Linked DNA regions of Homo sapiens: region 1 is linked to region 2. Evidence: promoter capture Hi-C in 16 types of primary human blood cells and fetal thymus (Javierre and others, 2016). All regions are on one chromosome and are shown on one strand. The core of a region is centred on a gene start or on the middle of the fragment in contact, and the rest is flanking DNA. Distances in the headings are between cores, read along the strand shown.

The links. The method cuts DNA at HindIII sites, captures the fragments that hold promoters and counts their contacts. A CHiCAGO score of 5 or more calls a contact.
Region 1: a contact is called between a fragment that was not itself captured here and the fragment with the promoter of TP73-AS3 in region 2, in 1 of 17 cell types (neutrophils). The highest score is 6.9, in neutrophils.

What each region holds. Positions count from the first base shown.
Region 1 is chr1:3,529,456-3,532,679 of GRCh38, forward strand. The region is part of intron 4 of MEGF6 (multiple EGF like domains 6); the gene reads right to left. Among named protein-coding and RNA genes, the nearest start is that of MIR551A, 30 kb to the right of the region's middle. RefSeq lists enhancers at 1-509, 1,198-1,883. The HindIII fragment of the contact is 3,584 bases long and covers 1-3,224 here.
Region 2 is chr1:3,667,525-3,670,481 of GRCh38, forward strand. It overlaps TP73-AS3 (TP73 antisense RNA 3), which reads right to left and starts at 1,421. Exons shown (of 3, transcript NR_187362.1): 1 at 1,101-1,421. The region is part of intron 1 of TP73 (tumor protein p73); the gene reads left to right. The HindIII fragment of the contact is 8,914 bases long and covers 1-2,957 here.

The sequences.
Region 1 (3,224 bases), core at 192-2,691, 140 kb before region 2:
CCTGGGGGGAGCCATCTGGTGAGAGACGAGTGGGCTCAGAGAGCGGCTATTTTAAGGAACAGCTGGGCCAGGATCCTGCTGCTGCCCTCGGCTAGATACGAGACTATGGACTTTGGCAGCCTCACAAGAGAACTGTCAGCACACTGGCACACAGCGACACGGCTGTGCCAACACGGGCTGGTTCACCAGGAGCCTGGCGAGACCTGCAGTGTCTACCAGGCTGGGAGGTGGAGGAGCCTCAGGGAGCCCATGGGGCCCCCAGCGACCACCACCCACGTCCCACAGCTCCCAGCCCAGGACTACACAGGCAGGTGGACAGGCATGGCTGGGCTGCCTCGAACCAGCTGCCTCTGCAGAAACCACCCAAGACGCGCCCCTTCCGAAGCCCACCTGGACTTATAGGAAACTTGGAGGGCTCTGGGCCCCTGCCAGAAAGCTCCGCTCAGGGCAGTTATCAAGTTCCAAGCCCTGCTTTGTCCCCACACTTGCCACGGGGTCCTCACCCCCAGGGAGCACACACCATTACCTATGGGCCCTTCTCCTCTCTCCCCCAAAAGCTGGAGCACGCTTTAGACCAGGACAGGGGCTCCCAGCTCCCGAGCGCCCAGCGACACCCAGCCAGAGGCCTTGGATGCTTCGCAGTCGCAAGGCATTTAGTGGCACTGTGGGTGGACCTGGCCTTGGCTGAGCCGCCCAGCCGGAAGGCTGCCTACCCAGCGAAGATGGAGCCTGGGCTGCCCTAGGCCAAGTGACCAAGCCAGGGAATGAAGGAAGCCTTTGCCACACTGAGGGCGTGGTGCTTAGTCCTTCACGCAGGAGAGAGGCAGAAGCTCGGCCTGGCACTCGAAACAGCTAAGGAGGGGTGACGTCTCTAAGGAGCCATTTCAGGGCCCCCCGCCAGCCACTGCCTACCCCCGGGTGATGCGGCTGACGACTCACTGGGAGCCGCAAACCCCACACTCCCTCCTCCAATTCCACCCCCTCCTCCAATTCCCGAGGGTGCCCAGCTCCAAGCTCTGTGGATCCCAGGGAGTTCAAAGCAACCACCTGGAGGGAGGCGGGCCTAGTGCAGGCGCCAGATCCCAGCTGCAGAGAGAGGCAGGACGGAACGAGAGCAGGGCTGTAACCTGCTTCCCAGGCCACCAGGGTTCTCAGCTGCCCATGCCTGTGGGGCTCCAGGAAGAACGGCACCTGCCACATCCACAGACAGGACCCCAAAGGGGCTGAGCTCTGGAGACCCCGGAGACTCAGCTCCGGGGGTCTCAAAGGGCCTTTGTCTCCAGCCTGCCTTTTCACTTGACCCGCAGAGTCGCCAGTGCCATGGGGAGCGGGGAACCCTGCTCCCACAGACAAAGTCAGGGGATGTTTTTCTTTCCTCCGGTCAAGGGACCTGGCTGTTAGTAGCCTCTGCCGACAGCCCTGAGAGGGGACGGGGGTGACCGACTCCTCAGCGCCCACGGACCCTGTCCCAGAAGCAGGCGCGCCTGCCGGGCACTGCCCCGCCCTGCTCCCTCCAGCCTAGCAGGCAGCGCCCTGGCGCAAACTTTAAAAACAGGAAACAAAGGGAGCGCGCCGGGGAGCGCCCTGGCCCCGCCCGCCCTGCCCAGGCTCGCCCGGCGCCCACCTGGCCTCTGGTCACCGGCGCTCACGGGGTAGCCGGCCTGGCCCAGGTGACATGGGTAGCAGCCCCTCCAGAGGTAGCGGTAGTGCGTGCCCGCGACGCGCGCCAGGCCCCCCAGGAGCCCAAGGCACCAGAGCGCGGCCAGCCCGCGGTCCCGGGACGCCCCCATGGCCTGGTAGGCCGGCGGGCGGGAGGGGGCGAGGACCAACCGCGCTGCGCCCTAAGCCGGCGGCCGGGCGACGGGGCAGGCGGCTCGGGCTGGTTCTGGGTTCCGGGCGGGCGCGCAATCCCAGCCCCGGGATCCGCTCCGCTCGGCGCCGCCCGGGAGCCGCTCTGGGCCGGGCGCGCCCCGCCCCTCGCCTTTAAGTTCTCAGCTTTCCCTCCGCCCCGCAGGTAAAGGCCAAGTCCGCAGACAACCGAGGGAGCCGCCCCCGGCCCCGCCCCGAGCCCCGCCCCACCTCCCCCAGGGGGCCGCGCCGGCCCGCCCGCCCCGCGCATTCCAGCGTGCGCGCTCCCGGACCCGGACGCAGATAGGGACCTAGGCACAAACGCAGACATCCACATGTGACCCACAGACACAGGCACACAGACTCACGTGTGCAAACATGCACACAGGAGGTACACAGACACGCACGGACATACGCACAGGCACACACATGCACAAACATGTGTGTTCTTGGAGCCAACACGGAAAAGAAGCCAAAGCAGCAAAGGGAGCCGTCCTGGCCGGGCCGCGGGGCGGGGGAGGGGGGCCGCGGGGCGGGGGAGGGGGGCCTGCAGAGGCGGCTGGTGGGGCTGAACTCTGACAAGGGTGGGGAAGATGGGGAACTGGTTTGAAGCTGCAGCACCGATGTGGAAACATGGGCTGAGACACCCCCAGTCCCCACGTCCAGTGCCTGCACTGTCCTGTCCTCCCCTGGCCCAGGGCCCCATACTTGGAGGGAGCCTGGGCGAGGGAAAGCTGGCATCCCTGCAGCAGGTGGTGACGGACAGAGAGCAGGGAGAACTTGCCTGCAGGGTGGCCAGCAGTGCCCAGGTGTCAGGCTGCAAAGGCCACGGAGGTGCTTCCAACCCCAGAGCCCTGGGTCCCCACGCTCCTCGAGGGCATAGCCCGGGGGAGGCAGTCCTCCCAGGGTCGGCAGCAGAAGGAACCACAGATTAGAGCCTCGTCAAGCACTTAACCTCTGCAGGAGAGCCAGGGCTGTGATTCCGGCTTGGATCAGAGTCCCCAGAGCCCCCCATCCTCTCTGAGCCCCTTCTCGCACCTATCCTTGGTCGGGGGTCACTGGGCTCCCACTCCTAGCCTCCATGGAGATGGAAGAGCTGTGACCAGCAAGCTGTGGTGCTCAATGACCCTCAGCAGTGATCCCTGCCTGGGACCAGCCCAGCACCACCTCCAGCACTGGCGGTGAGGGTCCACAGAAGGACTGGGCGCCCGCCCACACTGTTCCCGGCCTTTCCAGGAAGGCCCGAAAATCTCCCTCCGAAATGCAGTGGAAGTGTCCCTGGAGCTCAGCCTGTTCCCAGAGATGCAGCCTGTGTCTCCTCCCAGAGGACAATAGGTGAGCGGTGGGCACAAAGCCACATGACTGGGGCCACTGCA
Region 2 (2,957 bases), core at 171-2,670:
TGGATCATGAGGTCAGAAGATTGAAACTATCCTGGCCCACATGGTGAAACCCCGTTTCTACTAAAAATACAAAAAATTAGCCAGGCGTGGTGGCACGTGCCTGTAGTCCCAGCTATTCAGGAGGCTGAGGCATGAGAATCGCTTGAACCTGGGAGGCAAAGGTTGCAGTGAGCCAAGATGGAGCCACTGCACTCCAGCCTGGGCGACAGAGAGAGATTCTGTCTCAAAAAAAAAAAAAAAGAAAGAAAAAAAGTAAAAAAGAAAAAAAGGAAATAAACAAGGGCTTGCCCTGTAGTTCACATCTGGACCACCCAGCTTAAAATAGGGCAGGGGAGTTCAGGAATAGCTTTGCAACCCTTGTGTTACGGTGCACAGGTGTGCAAAAATTCTCCTTGAACTCCCCCTTCAGTGTCCCCCCAGGGCTCATGGCCACTGTCACTCTGTGCTAGTTGCTCTTCAGACCAGGGAACAGACTTGGCCATGGCTATGGCCAGGGTCCAGCTGCTATTGCTCCTCCTGTCACCCACCCACCTTTTGTCTCCAACAAGGATGTTGAGAGGAGCCAGGCACCAGCCTCCCTGGGTTCAGGTCTTTCCTCTCCCCTCACTTTCCTATGAACTAGGGGTGGGGGAGGAGGAGTGCCTGCCAGGAGGTCACTGCAGCCAAGGAACCCAAATTGGTGTGCTTGAGAATGACCCATGGATACACTTTCCAAAGAGTCACCCGGCTGCGATGAGGGGCCATCTCCCCTCCTGGAGCCAACAGCCATGAGTAGCTGTCACACACATCCGTGCAGCACCTAGACACACATCCGTGCTGTCCACTCCGTGCTGCTGCAATTGTGGGGGAGGAAGGTGGCACAGTGGCAGCGACACACACTTCCCTCTCCAAAATTGGGGCGGGGCTCCTCAAAATCCTCTGACCAGCATTAAAGATTCAGAATTTGATATTATGGCTGCATATAATGTTGAATTATCTGAACTTGCTGCACGTGTGTGTGTGTGTGTGTGTGTGTGTGTGTGTATTGTTGGTAGGACCAAAACGGTTAATTATCAGCAATTTCATGGTTTGACCTAATATTTTAAAAGAGAGGTTCTTACCTGCTGGAAGCATGTACTGGTGTATTACGGATGAGACGGTCTCATAGGTGGAATTTGCTGTGAAATGCCCCAGGAAACAAAAAGCCAGAGGTCAGAGTGATGAGAGCTGGGGACGGGTGGATGGGTTCCTGGGCCGTTCCCTGTAGTGCTGAGTGTGCTTGGAAGTGTCCACAATGAGGAGTAGAAACGAGTACAAAGCTGGGTGGAGACAGCCCTGTCCTGGCTGCCCTGAGCTCGGCCCTGTCAGTCGCCTTGAGGAGGGTTGGGGGGAGCAGGGATGCAGGGTGGCGCGTGCATGCCAGGTGGCAGGCGGCAGGTGCTGGCTCCAGGCCCGTCTCCAGCCCCAGGGCTCCAGGCCATGCTCCGCCCCCAGCTGCCCTGCAGCTCCAGGCCGGCCACGCTGCCGCCTAGTTTCGCAACTCCAATGTCATCACCTAGGTGACAGGGACGCTGCTGCCACCGCCCGCCTGCGGGAGCCAGGAGCCAGCCGAGGGCCACTTCCACCTGGCCCCACCGACCCTCCGGGGCCCAGGCTTAGCCAAGGTAGGCTTGGGCTTGGCTCGCCCTCCTCTCGGCCTGAGTCGGGGGGAGTCTCCTTGCCACCGTGGGTGCAGTGGCTCCGGGGGCCCACCCTGGGGTGCAGAGAGCCCCTCTACGGCCTCCCAGGAGGCGGCTTGGAAATGCAGTACTGTTCAGGCCAGGGTGGGGAGGCCTTGCCCACAGTTCTCCTGATGGGACAAGCCACAGCTCTGGGGAGCCATCTGCCCCAAGTGGCACATCAGGGCTCCTCGTGTGACCCTAGGATCGGGGGCAGAAGTGGCTCTGGTACCGCCACCTCCACCCCTTGGACCCACCAGGAGCTCTTTCCACTTCCTGCCAAGGAGGCGCAGAGTGACTGCCCCAGCCTGGCACGTCCGGGGGCTTCCCGGCTGGGGGCCGCCATCCTCAGCCTCACACAGCTGATCCAGAACCTCCCAGTTCTCCCCAGCCCCCTCACTCTTTTGTGGCCCCGGAGCCTCTCCCGGCAACAGCAAGCCATGCCCCGGCCTCCCCGGCACTCACGCAGCTACTCCCAAGCCTGACCATGACGTGGACGGCAGGAAGGGGCTGGGCATGTCCTGTTCCTTCTGCCTGGGTCCTGCTTCCAGGGCTGGACTCCCAGGCTGGGGAATCCTCAGGGACCCATCAAACTGGGGGACAGGGGAGGGGCTTGTGGGGATTTGCTGTGAGGAGGGCAGAGTGTGTACGTGGCAGTGCCTGCGGACACATGTGTGCGCATATGTGAATAGGTGTGTCCATGTGCATGTATGTGCAAGTGTGTTGCTAGAGGTGAGAGGGTGGGTAGGGAAACTGAGTGACCAGCTCCTCCCTGAAGCCTTGGGGGAATGTCCGAGGGGCCAGGGCCTCTGGATCCTGTTCCCTTGGCTCTTTGCAAAGTCTCCAGCCTGGCCTCCTGGATGGGCATGTGGCTCGGGGGGCGAGACCATGGGCTCTTCCTGGCTTGCTGTGTCGCTCTGGGTGCGTTTTACACCACTCTGAGGATCTCTCTGCTCATCCCTAAGGCAGGGATGATGATGGGGCCAGGGGACCACATGGGCACAGGTAAGGCAGGGATGATGATGGGGCCGGGGGACCACATGGGCACAGGCTTCTGGAATGTGGGTGTCGTCTCCCTGGGGTCCCGCAGTCTGAACTCAAGACTCAAGAGCCCCATGTCCAGGTGGGGATGTACAGGAGCCCCTTAGAAGTGGGGAAGAAGGCCAGGCGTGGTGGCTCACATCTGTAATCCCAGCACTCTGGGAGGCTGAGGCGGGTGGATCAACAGAGGTCAGGAGTTCGAGAGCAACCTGGCCAACA